7 separate regions of the Homo sapiens genome follow, and all the other regions are linked to region 6. Evidence: promoter capture Hi-C in 16 types of primary human blood cells and fetal thymus (Javierre and others, 2016). All regions are on one chromosome and are shown on one strand. Each heading gives the region's core, a stretch centred on a gene start or on the middle of the fragment in contact. The rest is flanking DNA. Distances are from core to core; before and after follow the strand shown.

Region 1 (3,996 bases), core at 217-2,716, 310 kb after region 6:
GTATTTACTAAAGTTGAAAAGTTCTTTTAAGATATCAGCCGGAAGGCCGGGCGAGGTGGCTCATGCCTGTAATCCCAGCTACTCGGAAGGCTGAGGCAGGAGAATCGCTTGAACCCGGGAGGCGGAGGTTGCGGTGAGCCGAGATCGCGCCAATGCACTCCAGCCTGGGCAACAAGGGCGAAACTCCGTCTCAAAATAAATAAATAAATAAATAAATAAATAAATAAATAAATAAATAAGAAAAGAAAAAAGCAAACAAAAGATATCAACTGGAAAGTTGAAAAGGCTCATGATTTCTGCATTTTCCTTTCGCACTCAGGTTTGAGACACACCCATCTGCACCTTCGTTGCTTTGACTCCTGCAGTTTAGAACCTATGCAAGGCTGTCAAGTCTGCAAGAGCTGTGTGTTAGTGCCACGGGTCTAGGTGTTCCAGCTAATAACCTTAGCCTTAGACCAGTATCAGGCGCACAGAGAGTAACGTTGACCGCACCCAAGGCACCGACCGTCGCCGGCAAGTAGCTGGGTCTCAAAACACTAGTGGAGTAAGGCAGCCTGATGCAGATCAAAAGCGCTGGCCCCTCGGGCAAGGTCAAATAAACATCAAGGAAAGGCAAAACCAAGGCGTTGAAAGCCTATGCAGTTAAGACCTAAAATGCAGGCCACCACATGAAAGAGCGTTGAGCCAGAAAACAAGAGGATGGGTTAAGCAGGGTACAATTAAGTGGCCAGGAGTTTAGAAAACGAGAACAATGTACAAGAAAGCAGCAGAGGGCCTGAACAGCAAAACAAAGCCAGCTAAACCAATGGAGAACAGCGTAGGGAGGCCCAGCCCTAGGCGAAAACCTGAGGGAGCGCTTAAATTTGGAAATTTAAATGAAGCATCGAGGGAACTGAATGCCACTATTTCAAATGTCTATTTGGATCAGTGCAGTTTAGTGGTCTAATGCGTCTCAAAGGATTACAGCCCTTTTCACGGACAAAGTGGTTGGCTCTGAGAAGAGCCTTTGGATTTAAGGTTTGTACTCAAAACAATTCACGCCCTCTCCCCACGAATGCGGCGGGCAAGCTGGATGTCTTTAGGCATGATGGTCACGCGTTTGGCATGAATAGCGCACAGGTTGGTGTCCTCGAAAAGCCCCACCAAGTAGGCCTCGCAGGCCTCCTGCAGCGCCATCACCGCGGAACTCTGGAAGCGCAGGTCGGTCTTGAAGTCCTGAGCTATTTCTCGCACCAGGCGCTGAAACGGCAGCTTCCGGATTAGAAGCTCGGTAGACTTCTGGTAGCGACGGATCTCGCGCAGAGCCACGGTGCCAGGGCGGTAGCGATGGGGCTTCTTCACGCCGCCCGTGGCCGGAGCGCTCTTGCGAGCTGCCTTAGTGGCCAGCTGTTTGCGCGGTGCTTTACCGCCTGTGGATTTACGAGCCGTCTGCTTAGTACGCGCCATAGTTCATCTGCAAAGTAAATGAGTTAGGAAGATTGGTTTGCCCCTCTATATAGGAACAGAATCACTCTGATTGGATTGTGGACGATCCCTGTTAGTGATCGGTTGCTAAATTCCGGAAGTGGCCGTAGAGATTCACGATTGGTTTATTTTTTCAGTGCAAGATTCTGATTGGTAAATTTGGATAGAGAACTGGCTCTTTCAAACAAGTCGTTTTCCGTTACAGGTTTCTTTGATGTTTCACGTAGACCATGACCTGCAAAGACATTGATCATTTAACTTAATAGACTGATCTGTTATCCTGTTTAGCTATAAAAAATCGAATGTGTTTGCGTTAGAAAGTGCTTTAGAATTTTTTTTCCAAAATCTCCGCTGCTTTTTTCTGCATTTTCCTGAAGTTTTTCCCTTCCTTATTCACTCATTTAAAATCCGTTGCCTAAGTATCTCTCAATGATTCCTCGTTTCATTATAGAGTACAAGGCTAATTCACTCAAACAAGGTTTTCTAAGATACACTGTTAAGCATAAGGAACTTTGTGTTTCATTTGTGTTATAGTAAAATTCTAATATCCTGGAATCCCTACCTCTGTAATATCGGGTTTGACTCAAAGAACTTAACACTATTATTTCGTTTTGTTGAAATTAAAACGTCCAGACATAATGGCAAGAGCCGTCAAAAAAAGTATTTTCAATTTAAAATCTTGAAAAAGATGGCGGCGAAGAGAGTGTTAGAAGGTTGTTTCTCTGTAAGACAACAATGGCGCAGTTTCTCCGGATCCCTGCGGGAGAGAGCTGAGGTGCACCGAACAATTTAAGACACATCCAACAGAACTTTTATAGGAACTGGACTCACCCAAATAACAGGACTTCTTAACTTGGTTTTCGCTTCCACACTCAACAGCTCCCAATTACTTTGAAAAAGTAACAAATGTTTACTGGAAAAGATTCTTAAAGAATGACATTACAGCCTAACACTATTGTGAATTAACCTATCGGATTCCCTGTAAGGTGTTCTTTTCCTAGCCAATAAAAAGAGCAGTTTGGGAATTCCTAATTTACATACTTTTAATCTATTGGCTACTTTGGTTCAGGCAGAGTTTTGATTTACAAGTTCGCGTTTGTGTAAGCGTACTATAAATATTTCAGAGAGGGATAGTGCGCGTGCGTGCCCGTTGCAAGGTCTAGTTTCTTTTTGTTTTTCTTTCCCAGTAGGTTTTCTTTCTCATTGGAAAGCTATTTTGTAAAGTGTAGCAGGTTCGCAATGACGCTGGCATGTAGTCCAAGGCGATTGACATCATGAATATGCTGGAGCCCCCGTCCTCCAGGGAGGGGAAACGGCTAAACCAAATTTATCACTGCCCGCAAATGCCCGCGGATGTCTGCAAGCTGGAGTGGAGAGGAGACAAAGGATGCTTTGTGCATTCCTGCTCATTCCCTGAATTCTGTTAAACCTGCCCTATTTTAGGGCATTCATCAAAATTCTGCTAACCACAGGATTGATACAATTGCACCTTTCAAGTTAGTGTCTATTTTGCAAATTTGAATTATCTTAGGACTCGTGGGCAAGTCTTGACTGAAATTACACATTGTCGTGCGTTTCAATCTCACATCTGAAATATATATGAGTCCCTTGCTTCTCTCCTTTTCAGAAAAAGAAAATTCTGTACACTTTAAATCACGGTAAAACGGTTAGGTATGTTGGCAAAATTGTTTCATAGGAAGCAAGGGAAGAACTGAAATCCTTTTGTATAATATGATTACGTATTTGTGGGCTGGGCCGTTTGTTAATGAGAGCTATGCACCCCCTGTGCTTTTCCTCTCCACACTCCCTACATCTCATCTTCTGAGGCCCAAGACCTGTTTATTGATATTATCTTCTGTTTTCTCATTTTCATTTTAGTTTTTTCATTTCTATTATTAGAATGTTAATATCTACATCTAAAAAATGTTTCCAAAATCAAAAGATAAACTTTAGGTCACAGTCAGTGAGAACCATTAAGGAAATTCCATCTTTATGCCCCATAGTTCTATTTCCTCCCCAGTGTTCTTAAATCTGTCAATCCGGTGTTTTGCCATTGGAACCTACCTTCAGTTCCTTTCATAATCCTCATCTCTAAATATGTGTAAAGCTTTATTTTAGAAGTCAGTGCAAAATTTACATGATTACATAAGAACTTAGCAGCTCACTTGTATTAATCAGTAATTTCCATCACTATTTCCATACCTGAACACAATTTCCCATAGGATCTGTGTTATGTGATAAAACAGTCAGAAACCAGTTGTGGCTACTGAGCATTTGAAATGTGGTTGTTGCTGCTGAGGACTGACTTTCTTTTTTTTTTGAGAAGGAGTCTTGCTCTGTCACTCAGGATGGAGTGCAGTGGGGTGATCTCAGCTCACTGTTAGCTCCACCTCCCGAGTTTAAGCGATTCTCCTGCCTCAGTCTCCAGAGTAGCTGTAGTTACAGGTGCTTGTCACCATGCCCGGCTTATTTTTTTGGGGGGGGTGGGGTGGAGGTATTTTTAGTAGAAACGGGGTTTCATCATGTTGGCTA
Region 2 (3,638 bases), core at 431-2,930, 330 kb after region 6:
GCTGAGGTTGCAGTGAGCCGAGATTGCGCCACTGCACTCCAGCCTGGGCGACAGACTGAGACTCTGTCTCAAAAAAAAAAAAAAAAAAATATATATATATATGTGTATGTGTGTGTGTGTGTGTGTGTCTATAAATCAGATTATGTCAGTTCTCCGATCAAACCCTTGCAGTGGCTCCCATCTCACTCAGAGTAAAACAGTAGTCACACTGGTCTGCAAGGCCATATAGAGACTCGTCTCCATTTGCCTCGCAGATCATATTTGCTTTTTCTTTGCACCCTGTCTGATACTGGCAGTGGGTTCTTGACCCTCAGAAAATAGAAATCGACCAAGAATCTAAGATGGACTTGAGCAAGGAAGTTTATTAGGGCTTTCGGCTTGAGCAGAAAGGGAGACAGCAACCAGAGGTATACTTGCAGCTGGCTCCTTGAAAGCAAGCTAGTCTAGTTTGTTATTCTTCTGTGAGCTTCGTCTAGGTGACATCATGGCATGTTTGGGGTGGTCTGTTGGATACACCTTTGCAGTCCCTTGTCATGCTTTTTCCTGTGTCTCAGGTCTCATTGGCAGCTTAAATCTCCACGCAGGGGTATGAATTTTATCATTAACATGATGCAAAAGTTAGGTTAGGATAATCAAAGTCCCTATAGCACATGTTCATTTGGGGAAGGTCTTTTGGAAGTCCCTATGCTGATGGCGAGGATGTTTGTCGTTAGAGTGTTCTATTTCTTTTATGTCTGATTGGCTGATTTTATGAGCGGAAGCTTCAGTGGCTGCAAGGTTATGGAGCTGGGTGCTGCTGTAGTCAGCACAGCAAGTAAACAAGTGTGGAGGGGTCCCTTGTCCTGCCTTCCATTGTCTGCCTCACCTCTGCCCCTTTTTCCAGTCATAATACCTGCTTTTTACCTCCATGCTTTCCTGCTGGGTATTCTATTTAGAATACTCTCTCACTTTCTCAATGTATTTTTTCTTTATCACTTTATGAGTAAAATTTTTCAAGACCATATCATTTAAAATATCACTTCTTCCCTCCACATGCTATGCCTTTTCCTGCTTCAGTGATCTTCATAGCAGTCAGCACCATCTGACACACTGTTTCACTTATTTTGTGTGTGTACCCCCACCCAATAAATATAAATTCTATGCACACATATCGTTTTGTTCTTTCTCATTCACTGCTGTAATTCCCAGAGCATAGAACAATGCTTGGTACATGCTATGTGCTCCTTTTTGTTGCTGTTGTTACATTAACATCCTCATAAAACTTTTTCTCCTCGAACTAGTGCCTTAGCACCAATAACATGATGCTTTTCATATATATGCACGAGCTCACACTTTTTAAAAATGACATTCAAAGTAACTATTTATTTTCCTGATTTCAAAGTATCAGCCTACGGACAACTTGCTGGCTAGAAGAAAAATCTGATTTTCAATGGAACTATCACCCTAAACCAACGGTTTTTTTTTTTTTTAATTTTTTTGGCAGTCTTTCTCTGTTGCCCAGGCTGGAGTGCAGTGGTACCACCTTGGCTCACTACAACCTCTTCCTCCTGGGTTCAAGCGATTCTCCTGCTTCAGCCTCCTGATTAATTGGGATTACAGGTGCCTGCCACCATGCCCAGTTAATTTTTTTATTTTTAATAGAGTCAGGTGTTCACCATGTTGGCCAGACTAGTCTTGAACTCCTGACCTCAGGTGATCGACCCACCTTGCCCTCCCAACGTGCTCGGAATAGAGGCATGAGCCACTGTGCCCAGCCCAAACTTGCGATTTTTCTATCACTTGGAATTTACATAAACCGGACATCATGTGTTTCTGATGTAGTGTACTATGTACATTACATCTGTAAACTGTTCCTGACAGGCATATTCACCCGATTTCAATTAAGTGTATGAAAGTCACTTGTACTTTACAGGACATGGGGAGTACAGAAGCCAAGTAAAACGATTAAGAATCAAGCCAATACAAAACAAAAGCAAAACAAAAACATTCTGTAAGTCTGGTCTCCGAGAAATCAATGTTCAAAAATGGGGAAGTAGGGGAGAGGAGCCTGTTTTAGATAAGAAAACTGGAGACACAACGGAAGTTATGGCTGGATCCTTCTTTAAACAAACCACATCTCCAAGACATCTGGGGCATAACTGTGGAATGACGACATATCTTTTTTGAACAATAGACAATGAGATCCAAGCAGGAAGTAACAAAGACTTTATTTTCAGAGGGAGAAGTAATCCCAGGATGGAATGAGCGCTCTGTGGCAGTGAAGGGGAGCTGGAATATATATATGCCTTACAGAGTCAACCTTACATACAGATTCAGTAGGTTTGGAAAAATTCTATGAGTATTCATGAGGGAGGAGATGAAATCACAAATCCGTCTCCCCGACCAAAATTGGGGGGCTTATGTAGCGAGAAGGGCGAGAAAACAGGAAATCAGGGAGGGATAAGGACGCAATCATGATGGATGAAACATAGGGAGTCTCACGGTCTCGATGCAAGTGATCTGGTGTTTCAGTTCCTGCCTCAGGCAGGAACATGAGTTCCTAAACATGAGTTCCTAAACATTTGTCTCATGTGAGATAAATGCTAAATTTCAAGCTTTAGGGTTTAAAGAGAGTCAAATTCTTTTATTCAAAAAACAGCAAATATCATAACTTCTAAGGGACAACTGGGTTGGCTTAATAGAATTCCGAAATGAATGCTTGCAACCTCTCCTTGCGTGAGCTTATCTACCCCAGGAACTTCTACACACCTAAACTCGGTCGTTAGGTTAAGTAATAGAAAACAGGCCGCTAGAATTTAAGGCCCACACTCCTTTCCAGGAAGATGATTGGTTGCGCTAATTCGCGGGTCCGGCCCATTGCCAGGCACCGGCTTTGTTCTTCGCTCTCCGCCATTTTGAGCGGTTACGCAGTGTCTTGCGGTTTTCCCACTTATGTCGAAAACCATGCATTTTTAGGTACTCAAAATAAAAGTGGTAAGGTAAACAGACACTATTACCCTAGCCTTTTCAGTGCAATCTAAGGCCCTACTACAATAAACATAAAAGGATCGTAGCCTAAAAAATCGTATGCCGAAACCCCAAATGTAATTTGGAACGAAAAAAAAAAAACGGCTGAAAAATATACGTACCTGTTGACAGGAACAATTAACTTATAAAGAGACCAACCAATCGTCTAACAAGTCATGAGCTCTTTTGCGGAAAACTGTGGGCGGCCCTGAAAAGGGCCTTTGATTTGGGAAGTCGAGATGCTGAGTCGTTTAAGCGGTAGCATTAGCCGCCGAAGCCGTAAAGAGTGCGTCCCTGTCTCTTCAGCGCGTAGACCACATCCATCGCTGTCACTGTCTTGCGTTTGGCGTGCTCCGTGTAAGTCACAGCATCACGAATCACGTTTTCCAGAAACACCTTCAGAACCCCGCGAGTCTCCTCGTAGATGAGACCAGAAATGCGCTTGACACCCCCGCGACGAGCAAGGCGCCGGATGGCAGGCTTGGTAATGCCCTGGATGTTATCTCGCAGGACCTTACGGTGACGCTTAGCGCCTCCTTTACCCAGTCCCTTTCCGCCTTTGCCGCGACCAGACATGACCAACACACCAACGAAAATAGCCGCAAAAATCTGAAAAACAAGCGACGGTAGTA
Region 3 (3,759 bases), core at 1,142-3,641, 380 kb after region 6:
TGGGCTGCATAGTTGGCTGGAAGGGGAGCAGGAAGATGTTAGGTGTGGGGACCAGGGTTGCAGCCTACTAGCTATGGTAGGGCTGCAGATTTTGGTAATCCAGATGAACTATCAATAATTTAAAATTATATATATATATATATAAAATCTCCCTTGCTCTCCCCTCTCAGAAGAAGTTAGGATGTAAAGAATCATAGAGGAGAGGGAAGGGGATGTTGAGGCTCCTGTCCAGGGGAACTCTGATAGCCCAAATGGTGTACACATTGCTACTCAGTACAAAGGCCCATCCTAATAACTCCAGGCTTGTCCTTTTTTGTTCCCTGTCCTGGGACTGGGCATGGCCATGCACTTCTTGCCCATCCCATCCCTTTCCCTGCCTCAAGCCCCAGGGCTAAATGGTTTTTCACTTTCCCAAATCTGTGTGTCTGAGTGCTGGCTTGTCCACTTGGCATCTTCCAGGATGGGCTGGCCAGTGGGTGGTATAGAGGGCTGGCTGATCATGGTGGCAGGTCTGCTGGGAGACTGAGAGGGGCACTGCTTCCTGCCCTCACCCCTGCCACCTCCTGCTACCACTGAGTGTTGCTTGTGGTTGGCCTCCTCACCCACGGGGGGATCTACTCAGAAGTCTTCAAGACTTTGGAATTTGCTGAGGTATTTTTGCAGTTGGGGTCAATGTCCACATTTTTGGCTTTGGAATATTTCAATAAGTTCTTTTACTATTCTTATCTGAAAGGGTGTAGCTTAATTCTACTTCTGGGTATGTGCCAGATTTCAGTGACTTGTTTATATTGAATAACATGTGCCGGAGGAAATGGCTCACACCTGTAGTCTCAGCTACTTGGGAGTCTGAGGCAGGATTGCTTGAGCTCAGGAGTTCCAAGGTGCAGTAAGCTAAGATCAGGTCCCTGCATTCCAGCCTGGGTGACGGAGCAAGACTCTGTCTCTAAGAAATAAATAAATAACGTTTAAAAAGTGTGGCAGAAGTGTGTAAGTTTCGAATCTTGTTCACAAAAGGCATTGCGGCTTATTCCTTCCCCTTTCTCTTTCTTTTTTCTCCTGCTAAGAGAAAACAGTTGTTTGGTTTTGAAGATAATCAGTTACCCCTCTAGAGAGGTCTAACGGGCAAGGAACTGAGGCCTCCACCCAAAAGTCGGCTTGAACTTGCCAGATATGCGAGTGTGCCACCTTGGAAGGGAATCCTCCAGCTACAGTCAAGGATTCGGATGATTGCAGCCTATGTTTACAGCTTGACTTCAACCTCAAGGAAGACCCGGAGCCATAACCACCTAGCTAAATCACTTCTGGATTCCCGACTCACAGAAATTAGTTTTGGGATAATTTGTTACACGGCAATAGATAACATAATAGACATGGGGAGCCCCACAGTTAAGCTTATAGAGCTACCATAATTTTTATAATGAAACTTGATAAAGGTAAGCCCAAAATAGAACATAATAGAATGGGCCAGGTGCGGTGCCTCATGCCTGTAATCCCAGCTACACAGGAGGCTGAGGTAGGAGAATCGTTTGAACCCAGGAGGTGGAGGTTTCAGTGAGCCGAGATTGTGCCACTGCACTCCAGCCTGGGTGACAGAGCGAGACTAAATCTAAAAGAAAAAAAAAATCATAGAATGATTTTATGCAAATAGAAATGGAAAAAAATCATGAAAAATATTAACAAAATTTACCCAGGTATTATTTAAAATAATAGTATACCATGACCAAATAAGATTTGGACTAGGAATAAAAGCATGAATCAACACAAAGAAATCTATCTATACTTCATGGCAACAGGTTAAAAAAGAAAAAGCATATGATTTCTTCAGAAGTCAAAGTGATCGAATAAAATTCATAAATCATACCTAATAAAAAATCTTAAAAGAAGATTAGAAGGAAACTACCGGGCTCGGCACGGTGGCTCACACCTGTAATCCCAGCACTTTGGGACCCCATGGTGGGCAGATCACTTGAGGTCAGGAGTTTGAGACTAACCTGGCCAGCATAACAAAACCTTGTCTCTACTAAAAATACAAAAAAATTAGCCGAGTGCGGTGGTGTGCGCCTGTAATCTCAGGTATTCAGGTGGCTGAGATGAATGCGGGAGGCTGGGAAGTGGAGGCTGCAGTGAGCAGAGATCCGGCCACTGCGCTCCAGCCTGGGCAACAGATAAAACTCTGTCTCAAAACAACAACAACAACAAACAAAAACCAAAAACTACATTAACACAATGAAGACTACATATACACATCCATGCACATACACACAAAAGCAATTATAAATCATCAACCACCGAAGTCATTTCTATGAACAGGAGGAAAAAGACAATACCTGGTAGCATGTCTAATGTGACATATTGTTTGTGATGGTAGCTAGCACAGTAAGATGATTAAAGCAAACAATAAATAGTTATGGGAGAGAATATCGAACATTTTTATTTGCTAATAGTACTATATGCAATTAAAATCAAGTCAGTCGACTATTGATTAGGATTAATAGAATTTGATAAGGTTAGCTAGACACAAAATTCATGTAAATAACCAATTATCCAATTATCCTCCTACATGCAGAATTTCAAACAGTGCTTTAGTGTGAGGTCATATGTCAATATGTAACAGAAGTCACAATCTTTTGAAAATCAGTATTACATCTGTAAAAATTTGGAGAGCTTAATTAATTCACAGCACACATAGTGACTCCCTTTTTTTGTATCATTTTTCTGTTTAAATATTTACTTTGTTAACCTAGGCTTGCTTTGATGAGCAATACATTAGGTTTCAATTTTTATTTTCTTATATTATTTTTAATTATTAGTAATCCATCCATTCTAGAAAATTATTGGCCATGATCTTTTAAATCTCACATTTGCATCATTCTCCCTGATTGTTTCTTCTGGTACTGTGATTAGGTCAACGTCAGATCATATTTTACTACTAATTCTAGGTCTCTTTTCATTTATTTATTTATTATTTGAGACAAGGTCTCACTCTCATTGCCCAGGCTGGAGTGCAGTGGTGTGATCATGGCTCTCTGCAGCCTTGATTTCCCTAGCTCAAGTGATTCTCTCACCTCAGCCTCCTGAGTAGCTGGGACCACAAGCACGCACCACCATGCCTGGCTAATTTTTTGTATTTTCAGTAGAGTCGGGGGTTTGCCATATTATTCAGGCTGGTCTCCAACTCCTGGGCTCAAGCAATCCTCCTGCCTTGGCCTCTGAAAGTGCTGGGATTACAAGCATGAGTCACCTTGCCCAGCCCTAATTCCAGGTTTCTTAAACTCACTTTTGCATTTTTATCTCTGCATTTCAGATAATTCCTTAAGATCTGATTACATAGTTTATTAAATTTCTACCGGTAGGTCCAATTGGCTGCTGTTAAACACATGCAGTAAGCTTTTCATTTCAATTTGTCTTATAATTACATGTTTATTTTCTAGAATTTCTATTAGGTTCTTTTTTCAAATCTATGTGGTCACTTTTGGTATTTCCTTAGTCCCTCAATATATTTATAAGACTTTTTGTTTCTTTTTTTTTCCTTCAGATGGAGTTTCACTCTTGTTGCCCAGACTGGAGGACAATTGCGTGATCTTGGCTCAATGCAACCTCTGCCTCCTGGGTTGAAGCGATTCTCCTGCCTCAGCCTCCTGAGTAGTTGAGATTACAGGTGCATGCCACCATGCCTGGATGATTTTTGTATTTTTAGTAGAGATGGGGTTTCACCATATTGGCCAGGCTGGTCTCGAACTCCTGAGCTCAGGTGATCCG
Region 4 (4,176 bases), core at 81-2,580, 350 kb after region 6:
GCAGGACTATCAGTATGCCACTGTATTATTCGCTGTCCTCAAAATGGATTTTAATTTGTGGAGAATATTGAGTAAACCCTTATTTTTCCAATAAAGTTTTTTCACTTTATCATAATAAAAAGAAAGCTGGACAGGTGGCTATCTAGCAAGAGACAACATTTCCTGGTCTTTCTGGGAGCAGATGTAAGCATGTGGCTACATTATTTCCAACACAGGTGAGACACATAGAAAAGTTACTACCAGGTCTGGGCTTTGAAACTTCCATGTTACCTTCTTCCCCAAGTATAATGGTATTGATTTCATTTTGAGCAATTAGAGAACATCAGGCCCTAGGAGATGACAGAACATTGACTTGGAAGGAACGAAATTTCCTGATTGATCACAAGGAGCAGAGCTGCTTCACAAAGCTGGACTAATCACAATGGATTTGTTCCATGAAACAAAAATATCTGTCTTTAAGCTTATTTATTGTTGAGTCTCTTTGTAAGCAGCATAACTTTATCACACAAAATTCAGTTTTGTTACTAAACTTATTTAGTATTGTGGAATGTCCTTCCATTGACCTGAAAGCTCTTTACAGAAAAGCTGATGCCAAATGAGCCTGTCGACTTGGTATCACCTCTGTTGGGTTCCATTATAGACAGAACAGAGTGGGGCTGATTACAAGTTAGAGATCAGGCAAGGCACGTGGCTCACGCCTGTAATCCCAGCTCTTTGGGAGGCCAAGGTGTGTGGATCACTTGAGGTCAGGAGTTTGAGACCCGCCTGGCCAACACGGAGAAACCTCGTCTCTAATAAAAATACAAAAATTAGCCGGGCATGCTGGCACATGCTTGTAGTCCTAGCAACTTTGGGGTCACAGAGTGAGACTCTATCTCAAAAAAAAAAAAAGTTATCAATGGGTAGACTAGATAGTCTATATGTCTTCAGCAGTGGTAACCTGTATATTTCAATGGGCTGACTTCCCTTCAAGAGTGGTTCTGCTGGGCACTGTGGCTCTCACCTGTAATCCTGGCACTTTGGGAGGGCAAGGCAGGGGGATCACCTGAGGTTGGGAGTTCGAGAACACCCTGACCAACATGGAGAAACCCTGTCTCTACTAAAAATAAAAAACTAGCTGGGCATAGTGGCACATCCCTGTAACCCCAGTTACTCAGGAGGCTGAGGCAGGAAAATCGCTTGAACCCAGGTGGCAGAGGTTGTGGTGAGCCAAGATCGTGCCATTGCACTCCAGCCTGGGCAACAAGAGCAAAACTCTGTATCAAAAAAAAAAAAAAAAAAAAAAAATAGAGTAGTTTGTAGTAATAGATGGATCAAAAACTCCTTTGAGAATCTGTTGAAAATAGACATATGAACATAGACATTTTATGAGGCTCATTATTCTCAGAAACTCAAGGAACTCCCAGGGCTCCATGGATTCCTGTCAACAACCAGAAGTCTAGGATTTCAGGGTCTGAGATCTAGAGATCCCAAATTTAAAGATAGAGAGGAATCGCAGACATAATACTAAATAATACATTGAACAGGAGTGAGTTACCATTTGCTGAGTGAAATAGACCTATATTCTTCTTCTTCTTCTTCTTTTTTTTTTTTTTTTTGAGATGGAATTTCCCTCTGTCACCCACGCTGGAGTGCAGTGGTGTGATCTTGGCTCACTGCAGTCTCCGCCTCCTGGGTTCAAGCAATTCTCCTATTCTTCTGCCTCAGCTTCCCAAGTAGCTGGGACTACAGGCCTGTGATACTATGCTCAGCTAATTTTTGTATTTTTAATAGAGACAGGGTTTTGCCATGTTGGACAACCTGGTCTTGAAATCTCGACCTCAGATGATCCGCCCTCCTTGGCCTCCGAAAGTGCTGGGATTACAGGCGTGAGCCACCATGCCCAGTCTATCATCTCTCTTCCTTCACTAGGATATGAGCCTCAGAAGGGCAGTCTCTTGTCTATCTTGCTCACTGAAGTATTTCAATGCCTGGCACAGAGGGAATGCAATCAATATTTGATGAAATACTGAATGAAATCCCTTCAACTACTCTCTGATTTGTTTATTGTATCCCCTGCTCCATTACTCCTGCCATTTCTTTGGCTTGAAACTTTATCCTCCTTCAACATCATTTCCCTCCACTGCATCCAGTCTCTTGCCACCAGAAGCATATTCCTAGAACTAGTTATAATTTTGTTAGTCCTTGCTCACAAGCTTTCTATAACCTTATTGTCTGCAAAATAAATCTAAACTTCATTGTTTGACATTCAGACTCTTCACAATCTTCTCCCACATCTTTATCACAAGAAAACTCCACGTGAGCAGGAGGCTTGGTTAGCATATTCTTTATCTCAGCAATCTCCTTTAACAAGCTCTCCAGGTGATTCTGATGCACACTGAAGTCTGAGAACCACTATTCTCAGTGCAGAAGTCCTCAGTACAAAATTCACTGCTTGGCACTTGAATATGAAGGAATGACTATCCATTTTCAACCTACTGGATATTCCTTCCATCCACCTTCGCCTGGAAGCTGCTTGTATCAGGCAGTGCAGATGCCTCCTCCCCAAAAGTCATTTTCCCTCCTTTCTTCCTAATACAACTTTCTTTGTTCCCTGACTTGTTCTCCAGAGAAGGCAGAGTTCCTTCTAGCCTCAGGGATCTGATTAATTTGACTACACCTATCCTAAAGATCACATGCCCCTTATTAATGATTGGATTGGGGATAGGTATATAGTCAGTTTTTGTGATTAGGAGAATCCTTAACAATGGAGACCCAACTTCTCTAAGAACATGATAAAGATGAGATGGGGATTGTCGATCAATGAACAATGTGTGTATGTGTTTGTGTGCGAGCGCGAGTGTGGTTGCACACTGAGAATTGTTCAAGTCTAATTGGTGAAACCAGACAGGTGAGGCGGTAGAGGGAAGAGGGTTTTATTTTTTCCTTTAGAACCTAAAATAAAAATCCAAATTAAGACCTTTTTGAAGTAATTGAGGAAAGGAAAAAAGCAAATTCAACATTAAGAACTACTTGAAAGCAGCAGTCTCCTCTCCTCCTTCCCCACCCCCGCTCCAGCCCCCCATAATATGGGCTTCTTTGGTAAAACCCGTATTTTTAAGGACTCTTGAGAAACGAAGTTTCTCTTCGTAGAGCAAAACTATGAAATTACTATTGCCTCTTAGGTACTATCGAGTGATACCTCATAAAACACGGAAACCAGAGTTTCATAAAGCCACCAGCCCAGACAGTGAGTGCCATTTTAAGTTTTAAAAACATGCCTATTTCAGCTGCAGGAGTTTCTAGTATCTTCACATGTCAGTATATAGCTCCAATTGTGAAAAGGTGAGTGGCTCTGAAAAGAGCCTTTGGGTTTACTAAGGCAGTTGCAGGGACAAGTTTACTTGGAGCTGGTGTACTTGGTAACGGCCTTGGTGCCCTCTGACACAGCGTGCTTGGCCAGCTCCCCGGGAAGCAGCAGGCGCACGGCCGTCTGGATCTCCCTGGAGGTGATGGTCGAGCGCTTGTTGTAATGCGCCAGGCGGGAAGCCTCGCCGGCGATGCGCTCGAAGATGTCGTTGACAAAGGAATTCATGATCCCCATGGCTTTAGAGGAGATGCCGGTGTCGGGGTGGACCTGTTTCAGCACCTTGTACACGTATACGGAGTAGCTCTCCTTGCGGCTGCGCTTGCGCTTCTTGCCGTCCTTCTTCTGCGCCTTGGTCACGGCCTTCTTGGAGCCCTTCTTCGGGGCGGGAGCGGATTTCGCTGGCTCAGGCATGCTATCTTTGCTGTTCTGCAGTTAGGAAAGAAAATGAAATCTACATCTCCTGATCCTCGGAATTTGTAGACAATGTTATGTAAATGAAGATTTAGTTTCTCCAACTCTGATTCGTTATTTTGTCGTGAAGTCTGCATGCAAATGAAGGAGCTTAGGTCTACTCTCCCATTGGTCATATCCTGAGAGCAGTTTTCGAGCACGGGCCACCTAATTAACATTTTATATAACAAGTTCCTACCATTGCAAACAATTCAGATTAGTTTACTTATTTTAAAAACCAGAAGTTGCTCTCTTCTATGCTTTTATATGCCAGGGAGACAAAGCTCCTGGCGCAGTTACGTCTTCGAATTGAAAGGTCGGTTTAAAAGCTCCTGGAAAAGCTATGCCTTGACATTCAGATGTAGATTCTGGAGCAG
Region 5 (3,983 bases), core at 176-2,675, 490 kb after region 6:
AAGGTATCTAAGGATTTTTAAAATGTAAATTCCGATTCAGTAAGTTTGAGTGGGACTTGAAATTCTGCATTCCTGACAGTCTCGCAAGTTATCAATGCTGGTGAACACTCACTAAACCACCAGAAACGTTCAGACTCATGTCGGGAAATAACGCTTATATTCAGAGAATGAGATTCCATGCTATTTTGTTACTGGCGAACAGCAAGTTTCCTTGCCCTTTGTTTTCTAAGTCCAAGTCACATTCCCACCCTGCCTGTTCTCAAAATGTCTTATTTTGGTTGGCCTTAAGTTTCACTTTGTATACTCTAAAATGTACTTTCTAAAGGAAGGTGTTATTTTCTCGAAACTTAACTTTTTAACACCATTAGGCTAGGGGGGCGGTGGCTCACGCCTGTAATCCCAGCATTTTGGGAGGGCGAGATGGGACGATCACTAGAGGCCAGGAGTTCAAGACAACCCTGGCTAAAATGGTGAAACCCCGTCTCGCATAAAAATACAAAAACTAGCTGGGCGCGGTAGCAGACGCCTGTAATCCCAAGTACACAGGAGGCTGAGGCATGAGAACCGCGTGAAGCGGCGGGGTGGAGGTTGCAGTAAGCCGATATCGCGCCGCTGCACTCCAGCCTGGGTGACAGAACTAGACTGTCTCAAAACAAACCAATCCAAACGAAAAGCAAAAAATACCCTAACAGAAGCAAGTTATCATCCTTTCTTGTGTAACTATGGACGGCTCTGAAAAATGCCGTTTCAAGTGTAAGCTACGTTTTCTGATTTGAGTGTTTACTTGACCTTGGCCTTATCGTGGCTCTGTTATTTTGGCAACAGGACGGCCTGAATATTGGACAGGACGCCTCCCTGAGCAATAGTGACGTTGCCCAGCTGCTTGTTGACCTCCTCGTCGTTTCGGATGGCCAGCTGCAGGTGGCGGGGGATGATGCTGCGGGTCTTGTCACGTATGGCGCTGCCCACCAGTTCTAAGATCTCGGCGGCCAGGTATTGTAAGTACACTGGCGCACCGGCTCCGACCGGCTCAAAATAATTGCCCTTTCGAAAAAGATGACGGACTCTGCCCTATTGGGAACTGCAAGCCCGGTAGCGACGAACAAGTTTTTGCTTTAGCTCCATTTTCCACGTCCGCAAATAGCGACCTATGAAAGCAGCGGAAAACTGTGAAAGACAAGCAAGCTGGAATGGCGCCTGAACAAATCCTTTTATACAAACTGCAAGGCTGCAATAGGAAGCTATCCTATTGGTCAATTATGTTTGGTGCTTTATCCAATAGAAAAAGATAACATAAATTCCATATTTGCATAAACCCCACCCCTCAGTGAAACCGTGTTTCTTTTGTCCAATCAGAAGTGAGGAATCTTAAACCGTCATTTGAATCTCAGGACTATAAATACATGGGCTCTGAACTGTTCTCTGTACTACTCTGTAGTGGAGAGTGTTAGTAGCTTTTCTATTCTGTTTAGGAATAGCAATGCCTGAACCCTCTAAGTCTGCTCCAGCCCCTAAAAAGGGTTCTAAGAAGGCTATCACTAAGGCGCAGAAGAAGGATGGTAAGAAGCGTAAGCGCAGCCGCAAGGAGAGCTATTCTATCTATGTGTACAAGGTTCTGAAGCAGGTCCACCCCGACACCGGCATCTCATCCAAGGCCATGGGGATCATGAATTCCTTCGTCAACGACATCTTCGAGCGCATCGCGGGCGAGGCTTCTCGCCTGGCTCACTACAATAAGCGCTCGACCATCACCTCCAGGGAGATTCAGACGGCTGTGCGCCTGCTGCTGCCTGGGGAGCTGGCTAAGCATGCTGTGTCCGAGGGCACTAAGGCAGTTACCAAGTACACTAGCTCTAAATAAGTGCTTATGTAAGCACTTCCAAACCCAAAGGCTCTTTTCAGAGCCACCTACTTTGTCACAAGGAGAGCTATAACCACAATTTCTTAAGGTGGTGCTGCTGCTATTCTGTTTCAGTTCTAGAGGATCAACTGGAATGTTAGCGAAGACAAGTTTTAGAGCCAAGGTTAACTTGGACGGGGCCGTGCGCGGTGCCTCTTGCCTTTAATCCCGGCAATTTGGGAGGCCGAGGCGGGCGGATCACGAGGTCAGGAGATGGAGACCATCCTGCTTAACACGATGAAACCCCGTCTCTACTAAAAATACAAAATAATTAGCTGGGCGTGATGGTGGGCGCCTGTAGTCCCAGCTACTCGGGAGGCTGAGGCAGGAGAATGGCGTGAACGCGGGAGGCGGAGCTTGCAGTGAGCCGAGATCGCGCCATGGCACTCCAGCCTGGGTGACAGAGCGAGACTCCGTCTCAAAAAAAAAAAAAAAAAAAAATTAAAAAAATATGAAGTTTTGAAGCAGAAATTATTTTGTCGTATGTTCTTTCATAAATTTTTTGCCTGCCTGCCTTCTTCCTTTGTTACAGAACTCCAACACTTACCCAAAGGTAGCTGTTGGGTCAGGGTTTCTGTACTATAGTCCCTTCTGTGGTGGCCAGAAATATGTTACAGGAAAGAGGTCCCCATCCAGACCCCAAGAGAGGGTTCTTGGATCCCGCGCAAGAAAGAGTTCAGGGTGAGTCCGCAGTGCAAAGTAAATGCAAGTTTACTAAGAAAGTAAAGTGGTGAAACGACAACTACTCCATAGACGGAGCAGGACATTCCCGAAAGTAAGAGGAGGAAGGCATCCACCCTAGGTACAATACTTGTATATATGGGGAGATGTGCTCTGCTACAAGTTTGTGATAAAGGATTAATTTTCTTAGTTACTATATTTTGCAAGAATCAACATTATTATCTTTAAACAAAATTAAGAATGCCTTTGTTCTCCAGATATAGGGATATCTGGACACTCCTAAGTCTGAGTCTGTTTAGTAAACATTATTTATTTGTTCCCTTAACCGTAAACATCTAGAAGCTAGGAATGACTGACTTTCTGGGAATGCAGCCCAGAAAGTCTCAGCCTCATTTTCCTAGCCCTCACTCAAAATGGAGTTACTCTGGTTCAAGTAACTCTGACACTTTTCTTCTCTTTTTTTCTTCTTTTTTCCTTCCTTTATTTTTTATTTTTTATTTTTGAAATAAGAAATCAAGAATACTTGATGTTTCATCTAAAACAATACCCATAATTGATAAGCCAAAACAAAAACCTAGGTCTTCTAACTCAAAACTAGGATGTTTTGCTGTCTCTGCTGATACTCGGCTGATCGTTAATAGGTAATTAACAAACAAGCCTTGCTATGTCCCCCTCAGTTTATTACCATTAGATCATATGCCTACTGTCAATCATATTAATCCACAACTATGCATTTCACAAAACTTGCCATAAAAATTCACAGGTTTCCCGCTTCCCTCGAGTTTTCATTTCCGAAGGGTCCCATGTAATATAAAACTTATATTAAATACATTTGTATGCTTTTCTCTTGCTAATCTTTTTTTTTGTTTTTTGAGACTGAGCCTTGCTCTGTCACCCAGGCTGGAGTGCAATGGCGCGATCTCGGCTCACTGCAACCTCCGCTTCCCAGGTTCAAGCGATTCTACTGCCTCGCCCTCCCGAGTAGCTGGGACCACAGATACGTGCCACCATGCCCCGCTAATTTTTGTATTTTTAGTAGAGACAGGGTTTCACCGTGTTGGCCAGGATGTTCTCAATCTCCTTACCTCGTGATCCGCCCGCCTCGTCCTGCCAAAGTGCTCGGATTACAGACGTGAGCCACTGCACCCGACCAATCTGTCTTTTTGTAGAGGGGCCTCAAGCATGAACTTACTGATGGGTGAGAAAAACAGAATTTTCTTTTCCCCTACAATATAAACATTAATTGTAATGTTATCATTCAGGACATTTTGGTGACCAATCTTACAGAAATTTTATCTTGTGCAAGTCTATGCAAACCAATATGTAAATCTTCTATAAGTGAGATTGTATTTCACTTTTCTAGTATCCTTTTAAATTAATAAAAGAGATTCTAATGATTATT
Region 6 (3,665 bases), core at 309-2,808:
ACCATAATAACTTGCTTATATTTCTGAGTAGTACAGAGGGGATTTTAAATGAAAATGTATTAGACAGGTTGCTGTTGAGCACATGCCCAAGTTTATTGTCTTGCTAACCAAGATATTATCTTGCTAGCCAAGGTGTTGTCTTGTTAAGGGAACCAGCAAGATGACAAAAGAATGGACCTTTCAAGTCAACGTCTACCCAAGCAGCCTGTTTAAGAAAATGATAAAAAGAAAACAGCTCATTAACATTGTCCTTTTCTTTCTTTTCTTTTCTTTTTTTTTTTTTTTTTTTAATTTTGCGGACCCACCAAAGAATGCAGCCCTTCTTTTCTCATGGTCATAAAAATATCACATTCGGTTGGGCGCGGTGGCTCATGCCTGTAATCTCAGCACTTTGGGAGGCCGAGGCGGGCGGATCACTTGAGGTCAGGAGTTTGAGACCAGCCTGGCCAATATGGTGAAACTCCGTCTCCAACTAAAAATACAAAAATTATCCGGGTGTAGTGTTACACACCTGTAGTCCCAGCTGCTCGGGAGCCTGAGGCACAAGAATCGAGGTGGAGGTTGCAGTGAGCGAGATCGCACCATTGCACCCCAGCCTGGACAACAGAGTGAGACTCCGTCTCAAAAACAAACAAACAAAAACAAACACATCACATTCTTATTAGTCATTTGAGGGAACCTGGAGCAATATGATCTGAGAGGCTAGGCTTGGCTAATCCCTAGAAAAAGTAGTAATACATCTAAGAAAGAAATCCCTCTTAGGGAACACCCGAGGCTGCCAGGTGACACAACAAAACTTTCTCATAAAAGCGTTTGATTAATCCGATTAACTTGTAAGCAAGCCATGTGGCAGAGGTAAGAGGCCAAACACCAAGGCACCAGTCCTGATTCTAAACAAGTGCTGGTCCATTTCTTAACTTTGGGATCCATTTTTTCTTTGTGATGGAATAGCAAAAGGTCAAAGTGGAGGAGGACTCAGCCCTTGGGTGTCTCCTCAACGAGGGTTTCTCGAAGGTAAATTGGGGAGGAAGGGAGAGCCCACGGCAGGTCAGTCCAACCTGCCAGTCACCACCTCTTTAAGGCCACAGCCCTGCGGGAGCAATCCTTTCAAATCCCCTTCCTTCCTTCTTTTAGAACGCCCCTAGAACGCCGATTAGGACTTCTCATCCCGGTCGGGCCTGCGGCTCTCTGTGACCCCACCTCTGGATTCAGCTTTTCCCAGGGATTCACACTCGGAGCTCAGGAGAGATGCTGCGATTACTCTGGAGACGGGAAGACAGGCGGGGCTGACGGGGCCCAAGGCCCCTAATCATGACCGGGGCCAGCTGGCAGGAGGGTCCTAAGTATACGGAGGGCGGCGGGACCCCCCCCACCACGCCCCTCATTTTCCGGGGTAGCGCACAAAGTCTGTGAGGCACTTACCCGAGTCTCGTGGCCGTCCGAGGGGCGCGGGAATCCCAGCTGAGGCCCGTGACGCGCCGGAGCCCTAGGCGTGGGCAGGGCCAGCACCAGCCCTAAGACAGAGAAGACGAGCGGAGCCCGGCTCCGCCAGGAACAGGAAGGCGAGGGAAGGTGAGGATGCGCTTCCGGGGCTGCAGGCGGGGAGCCGCCCCGAGTCCAAGCCGGAGAGAGCTGGTTCTCCCCCTGGCGATACGTGTGTGAGCCTCTGAGGCCCGCCCTAAGCACTGCTGCCCCGATCTAGCAAGACAAGAAGACAGGAAATTTATGACAGCCTGAAAAAGTCTTTAAAAGATACACACTGGAAGAATTTCGTAGTAAGATGAGGAAAAAAAAACGTGTTTCCGCCCGGTTTCGAACCGGGGACCTTTCGCGTGTGAGGCGAACGTGATAACCACTACACTACGGAAACCCACTAAGGGCTTATTTTTCAGAGTAAATAGTTCTTCCTGCCTAGTTCCGTGTTTCTTCGTTCCAAGTGCGTGTTTTGCTGATGTGCGCGTGCGTCTCTGTACCGACCTCTCAAACCAGAAAAACCAATGAAAAGCTCAGACCCAGCCCCTCCAGTGTTCAAACTGAAGCCATAGAATTTATTCTACAAATGACTGAATAGGGAAGAACACAATAGAGACTTTAATTTAATCTCTGAACGGTCCTTCGTTCTTCGGCCAAAATGGCCAGGCAAGGCTGGGCACAACTTGGGTAGGGCGAGCGTTTCTCTGGCGTAGTTGGCGTTACCACGTGGTCAGTGGCAGAATGCTCCGCAAAGAAATGATAACCCCATATGTTGTCGGGAGCTGCCCCTCTTGCTTCTGAGTCTTCCAGGCAAATTTATCTTGCAGGAATTTCCTTACTCCTGCGGAGTCAGAAAGTTGTAAAACGACCCTGCTTACACCGAGCCAGCCAGGAGTCGAACCTGGAATCTTCTGATCCGTAGTCAGACGCGTTATCCATTGCGCCACTGGCCCTGCGCGTACCTTAGGGGCGAGGTATTTCATAAGAAACTAGGTTGTACCCGTAATATCTGGGTGAACGCCTGTAAGCCGCGTTTGCCCGCTGGTCCAGGCTCGCAGCGCATGGACTCTCTGGTAGCTACTTCTGCACACGCCCCGTGGCCTTCATTCCTTTCTCGGTCTGTCTCTGCCGGCTGAAAAATGGCGGTGAAAAGCAAGCCCTGCATCCTCTCTGCCCCAATATCACCGCTCCATTAATGCGTTCGTTCATTCAACCAGTATTAGTGTTCAAGGCACTGCAGATAACGGTGAAGAAAACATGAGAGACCCTTGCCCTCAAGATTACATGGCAGTGGCGGAAGCGGATAATAAAGCATTAAATAAACAAAATAATAGTGATAAGCGATTGGAGAAAAATAATAATAAAACAGGGAAAGAGGATAGGAAAGGCCAGCAGTGAAAGTGATGAATGAGGGATAAATGCTGATATCGGGGAAATGAGTGATCTGGAACAGGGAAAAATCGCTAGGGAAAAGGCCTGGAGGTGGAAGCAGGCTTGGGAGTTATGTTGAGGAGGCCGGTGCTCAGTGGAGAGGAATAGGAGATCCTGGGAGACCACCTCCAGCTTTATAGGCCCTTGTAAGGACTCTGGCCAGCTTTACAGGCTCTTGTAAGGACTCTGGCTGGTATTCTGTAGGAAACTGGAAGCCGTTGTACGGTGACGTGGTCTGAGTTTTCATTTGTCTCTCTGTGGGTCTTTTTTTTTTTTTCTTCAAATATTTTACTAAGCGAAACTGTGCTAGGCCTCCTCACTGCATGCTGCTTCTACTGCAGGGCCTTGATCTCAGAATTTGACAGCTTTATAAGGAGCATCATCAACCCGGACACTCATATGAATGTTCACTTTTTCACTTTGAAAGCAAACAAACGTCTCATATGTGTGTGTTTTAGTTTGTCCATATTTCTGAGAATAAATCATCCCCATGCCTGGTGAGCATTTTAAATAAGATGAGGTCTACTAAACAGAAGTAAAACTGCCTGATATTGAGAATATACACTTTGAGATTAGAAAATATTTGTTTTCAGTTCATAAGGTTTCAACAGCCGTTACAAAAAATATTCTGCTCTTTCTGCATAAATATTAAGGTAGACCTAGGTTATGGATTACTCCCTAGGCAATAGCATAGGGATCTTCTCGTTAGGTTTTGTACTATGGACCCCAAGGGCAGCTTGGTGATTCTGGACTCTATCTCA
Region 7 (4,067 bases), core at 1,246-3,745, 430 kb after region 6:
AAGGTGTCCCAGAATATGGATTAGGGGAGTTTTTTTGTTGTTGTTGTTGTTGTTGTTTTTCATCTATTCATTATCCTGTAGCTGAAATTTAGAATTTTCTTCCATTGTGTGTGACTGATAGAAATAACAAATTTGTAGGTTATAGTTGTTGCAAGAATCTGGAAATCGTGCTTGCTTATTTCCGAAGTACTATTAGGTATATCAACAAAAACACACATATTACGGTCAAGTGGTTTGATAATTATTTTAATATTATTGGTCTAATACAATTGTAACCCTATGAATTACTTTAAGTATCTTATTTATGAAAAGAATCTGTAAGTTTCATCAGACTACCAGAGCATACCGAAGACTGAAAAATTTTAAGAATCCAAACCTTAATGGAAATGTTGGAGGCTGCCCAATTAGGTTCTGAATTCCACCTTCCTGAATCACAAACTTGTTTTAACTCTCAGTCTGAGGTAAACTACGTTTCTCTTTAAACAGACATAGTTTAATTTTCCTTTGATTTTTGATTTAGTATTCTTACTGATCATCATAAATAACCAATGCTAATGTTAGTCTACTTTGGACCATGGTATTTCGAGAAACTTTGAACAAAGTCCCCTGCAAAACTATGCATTGCATTATTTCACATACATTTATGTTTTCCAGACGGTTCAATAGTACCTCACTTTTCTGAACTTATTTGTATAGTTTGGCATCTTTTTAAAAATTGTGTCCTATAATGAAAGGTTGTAAACATTATGTTTTAAATTTGTATAGATAAAATCAACCACAGACCTTTCCTTGCTTGGATGTAATTGCCATTGTTTCCCAATGAGTTCGGAATTACTAGGATTGTGCAAAAATATGCCTCACTTGCCTGACATAGCAGAGAGCCATTTTGCCTAAATGCTGTGCCCAGCAATGGACTGTCACCAGATTCTCATCACATACAGTGAGGATGAACAACTAGCCTCTCCCAGCAGCTGGCCGGTCTCTCAATAATATGGGACTCCCTCAAGATGGCTTCCTGCACCTTTGCTCCTCTAGCCTTGTATGTATACAAGGCTAGCATGCCTGGCATACATAAGGTTAAAAACAAAATCAATAAGTTATGGTTCTTCCTCCAGTTCTGGGGATTATTAGACCACTTTTTTGTTTTGTTTTGTTTTGGATGGAGCCTCGCTCTGTCACCCAGGCTAGAGTGCAGTGGCACAATCTCGGTTCACTGCAACCTCTGCCTCCTGGGTTCAAGCAGTTCTCTGGCTCAGCCTCCCACGTAGCTGGGATTACAGGTGCCCGCCACCACGCCCGGCTAATTTTTGTATTTTTAGTAGACGGGGTTTCACCATCTTGGCCAGGCTGGTCTTGAACGCCAGACCTCGTGATCCACCCACCTTGGCCTACCAAACTGCTGGGAATACAGGCGTGAGCCACCGCGCCCGGACTTAGACCACTTTGTTTTGGCCAATAGGACAACAGCCATAGAACCCTCCGCAAATGAGAGCTTGTCCCTAAAGATGCTTTATTTACATAGCTGTGTGCCGCATGAGCCAAAAGGTGATAACCTTTGTTCAACACGCGCCTCCAGCCCTTCGGTTAAGTCCAAAGTACCATTCTTAGAATGCTCTAAAATACATAATTTTTTTTTTTTTTTTTTTTTTTTTTTTTGAGGAGTCTCTCTCTGTCTCCCAGGCTGGAGGGGAGTGGCGCGATCTCGGCTCACTGCAATCTCTGCTTCCGGGCTAGCTGGGCCTACAGGTGCAGACCACCACGCCCGGCTAAGTTTTGTATTTTTTTTGGTAGAGGGGGTTTCACCATTTTGGCCAGGCTGGTCTCGGATTCTTGATCTCAAGTGATACACTAGCTTTGGCCTCCCAAAGTGCTGGGATTACAGTCGTGAGCCACTGCGCCCAGCAAAATGCTTTTTGTGGAGCCAATCACTTTATTAGCGCTTACCTCTCTATGCCTACTTTATGCTTTGAAATTTTGTCACAGTGTGGCCGGTCATGGCAAACACAATTCATTCTTATGCAGGATGTCACGGTTATTTCTGTCATCCAAACTCATTCTCGCAACGCATTTCAGCTCTTTAAACGACTTTGTGAGCGGCCCTGAAAAGGGCCTTTGGGTTTTTTTGTTTTTGTTTTTTGAAGTTCTCAGGAGACCGCGTATTCTTAGATTCAGCCGCCGAAGCCATACAGAGTGCGCCCCTGACGTTTTAGGGCATATACTACATCCATGGCTGTGACAGTTTTGCGCTTGGCGTGCTCCGTATAGGTGACGGCGTCTCGAATAACGTTCTCTAAGAAAACCTTAAGCACACCTCGAGTCTCCTCATAGATAAGACCGGAAATGCGCTTGACGCCACCGCGCCGAGCCAAACGGCGAATAGCCGGTTTTGTAATGCCCTGGATGTTATCCCGGAGCACCTTACGATGGCGCTTAGCACCACCCTTCCCCAAGCCTTTTCCGCCTTTGCCGCGACCAGACATGATTCCTATCGCAGTGGAAGGTATGAACTGAAACAGTTCCTTAAATACAAACTTGGCGGACCTGATTGAAAACAACATGAGTTGGCGCGGTTTTTTTTTTTTTTCAAATTTGGTCACCAAGTGGGTGGAGCAAGAAAAACTGTTTCATTATGGTTCATTGTTTTGATTGGCCAGTGACAGCTTGCTCTTTGTGGGAGTGGAAGGGTGTTTGCAAGTTGAATGCGCTGTATTCCTGTCAGCTTAATGACGCTAAGCATAGCCCCATTCCACATTTCTTTTTATTTCCACTTGCTAACTAATAAATTACGGAATAGTTTATTGGGGAACATACAAATAATGTTTAAAGGAGGTCAGATTTATAGGTCAAGGGATTTACCCTCCCAATCATTTTAATATTTTTATTTAAACCAGGCATTTTGATGGCCTTCTCTGTGCTGGACAAGGTATAAGTTTGGCTATGAAGTTTCACTCCTAAAGACCCTATGTTTTGGGAAGGCAAAAAGGTAGCCAAATAATTGCAAATTAAAACCTCATAAGTGCAAACTTCTTCCTCGTCACTTTCCCTATCTCGATTCAAATATTTGTTGAATGACTCATTTTTCTGCAAAAGTCTGAGAGAGACAGGGAATATAAACTTAAGTCTGGATAATATGTTTTCCCGGGACGCTCTTCCTGGTCTGCTGTGCCTGTTTGCTGTGCCTGAAATTCCAAACACTCTTCCCTTCCCTCCGTTTTTAATCCCCTTTCAACTTGCTACAGCTTTAGAGAAAAGAACATTCGTTTTGTACAGTTGGGGATTAATTGAAGTGTAGGGCTAATACTTGATTAAGGTCATTACAAAATCTACAGGGTCTTCCTCTGGGAGGTTTTTGTGATAAGATTATTGGTGTTAAAATAAGGCTAATCCCCTTGAAAAATAAATAGAATAGCAGAATTGGGTCTGAATGTGGTTTGAAGAAAGGGACTTCTCAATTCAAAATTTTATTCTTAGCTTCCTGCGGGAGCTTTCCAGAATGCCCATAAGATCCACTTTTGTTTAAAAAACAAAAACAACCCCACCCACCACTCTCTGGTTAATAAATGAATTTCTATTGGGAATATTTAGAATGGGGCTGTGGCCTGTGAGAGACATTATATAGTAACCTCAGACTTGCTCACATGAAGAGAAGAAATCCAGGAATGGAGAAAAAAGACCCAGGAAAGGCCAGAATGCTCTACATGTCATATTGTTTGTATCACTTCTGAAATAATTGATTACATTCTTCTGCCCCAAATTGAGTTCTTAGGTTCTTCCACTCACTGTCCACATGCCACAACACAGACCTTATAACTAGAGACTTAGCTAGGAAGAAATGTCAAACATTACAGAGAAAAAATGCAGAGTCTGAGATCATAAGTAAAACTCTGAAATCTCAACATGCCTTTTAATTCATGAAAATAAAAAATATAGCAGCATATGCAATATGACAATTCTCTGAAAACATACATCATGTGAACTACCCTGGAACACATCTCGCCAAGTGCCATCTTCATTTTAACCAGAGGTCTAGGATGCCTTTCCTTTATTTTGCCTATTATATCATTTAT

What was found. Contacts are between HindIII fragments. The CHiCAGO score rates a contact against its expected background, and 5 or more counts as called.
Region 1: a contact is called between the fragment with the promoter of H3C6 here and the fragment with the promoter of HMGN4 in region 6, in 8 of 17 cell types (total B cells, activated CD4 T cells, naive CD8 T cells and 5 more). The highest score is 6.8, in total B cells.
Region 2: a fragment that was not itself captured here is called in contact with the fragment with the promoter of HMGN4 in region 6 in 1 of 17 cell types (neutrophils); the score reaches 5.4 in neutrophils.
Region 3: a contact is called between a fragment that was not itself captured here and the fragment with the promoter of HMGN4 in region 6, in 2 of 17 cell types (neutrophils and total CD8 T cells). The highest score is 6.0, in neutrophils.
Region 4: a contact is called between a fragment that was not itself captured here and the fragment with the promoter of HMGN4 in region 6, in 6 of 17 cell types (total B cells, total CD8 T cells, naive B cells and 3 more). The highest score is 9.6, in total B cells.
Region 5: a contact is called between the fragment with the promoter of H2BC3 here and the fragment with the promoter of HMGN4 in region 6, in 2 of 17 cell types (neutrophils and total B cells). The highest score is 9.8, in neutrophils.
Region 7: the fragment with the promoter of H4C3 here is called in contact with the fragment with the promoter of HMGN4 in region 6 in 1 of 17 cell types (neutrophils); the score reaches 5.9 in neutrophils.

Annotation. Positions count from the first base shown.
Region 1 is chr6:26,222,605-26,226,600 of GRCh38, reverse strand. H3C6 (H3 clustered histone 6) reads right to left here and starts at 1,466. Exons shown (of 1, transcript NM_003532.3): 1 at 985-1,466. The coding sequence starts at 1,446. The coding sequence ends at 1,036. RefSeq lists enhancers at 224-839, 840-1,456. The HindIII fragment of the contact is 11,157 bases long and covers 1-3,573 here.
Region 2 is chr6:26,204,589-26,208,226 of GRCh38, reverse strand. It overlaps H4C5 (H4 clustered histone 5), which reads right to left and starts at 3,617. Exons shown (of 1, transcript NM_003545.4): 1 at 3,206-3,617. The coding sequence starts at 3,582. The coding sequence ends at 3,271. RefSeq lists enhancers at 1,880-1,979, 2,030-2,109, 3,430-3,569, 3,580-3,638. The HindIII fragment of the contact is 1,833 bases long and covers 764-2,596 here.
Region 3 is chr6:26,160,982-26,164,740 of GRCh38, reverse strand. H2BC6-AS1 (H2BC6 antisense RNA 1) reads left to right here. Exons shown (of 3, transcript NR_186648.1): 2 at 1,065-1,433; 3 at 3,536-3,759. It also overlaps a transcript of H2BC5 not described here and the pseudogene LARP1P1. Among named protein-coding and RNA genes, the nearest start is that of H2BC5, 4.7 kb to the right of the region's middle. RefSeq lists an enhancer at 3,419-3,759. The HindIII fragment of the contact is 1,996 bases long and covers 1,394-3,389 here.
Region 4 is chr6:26,183,380-26,187,555 of GRCh38, reverse strand. H2BC6 (H2B clustered histone 6) reads right to left here and starts at 3,795. Exons shown (of 1, transcript NM_003523.3): 1 at 3,326-3,795. The coding sequence starts at 3,760. The coding sequence ends at 3,380. RefSeq lists enhancers at 3,473-3,532, 3,983-4,172, 4,032-4,176. The HindIII fragment of the contact is 1,735 bases long and covers 463-2,197 here.
Region 5 is chr6:26,041,155-26,045,137 of GRCh38, reverse strand. It overlaps H2BC3 (H2B clustered histone 3), which reads left to right and starts at 1,425. Exons shown (of 1, transcript NM_021062.3): 1 at 1,425-1,911. The coding sequence starts at 1,481. The coding sequence ends at 1,861. It also overlaps the pseudogene H2AC5P. RefSeq lists an enhancer at 942-1,181. The HindIII fragment of the contact is 16,277 bases long and covers 1-3,983 here.
Region 6 is chr6:26,536,259-26,539,923 of GRCh38, reverse strand. HMGN4 (high mobility group nucleosomal binding domain 4) reads right to left here and starts at 1,558. Exons shown (of 2, transcript NM_006353.3): 1 at 1,423-1,558. It overlaps TRR-ACG1-2 (tRNA-Arg (anticodon ACG) 1-2), which reads right to left and starts at 2,426; the gene lies at 2,354-2,426. TRV-CAC1-6 (tRNA-Val (anticodon CAC) 1-6) reads right to left here and starts at 1,870; the gene lies at 1,798-1,870. RefSeq lists enhancers at 938-1,347, 2,608-3,272, 3,362-3,665 and silencers at 1,838-1,887, 2,281-2,574. The HindIII fragment of the contact is 7,010 bases long and covers 1-3,665 here.
Region 7 is chr6:26,102,361-26,106,427 of GRCh38, reverse strand. It overlaps H4C3 (H4 clustered histone 3), which reads right to left and starts at 2,495. Exons shown (of 1, transcript NM_003542.4): 1 at 2,091-2,495. The coding sequence starts at 2,480. The coding sequence ends at 2,169. RefSeq lists enhancers at 2,133-2,823, 2,848-2,957. The HindIII fragment of the contact is 10,429 bases long and covers 1-4,067 here.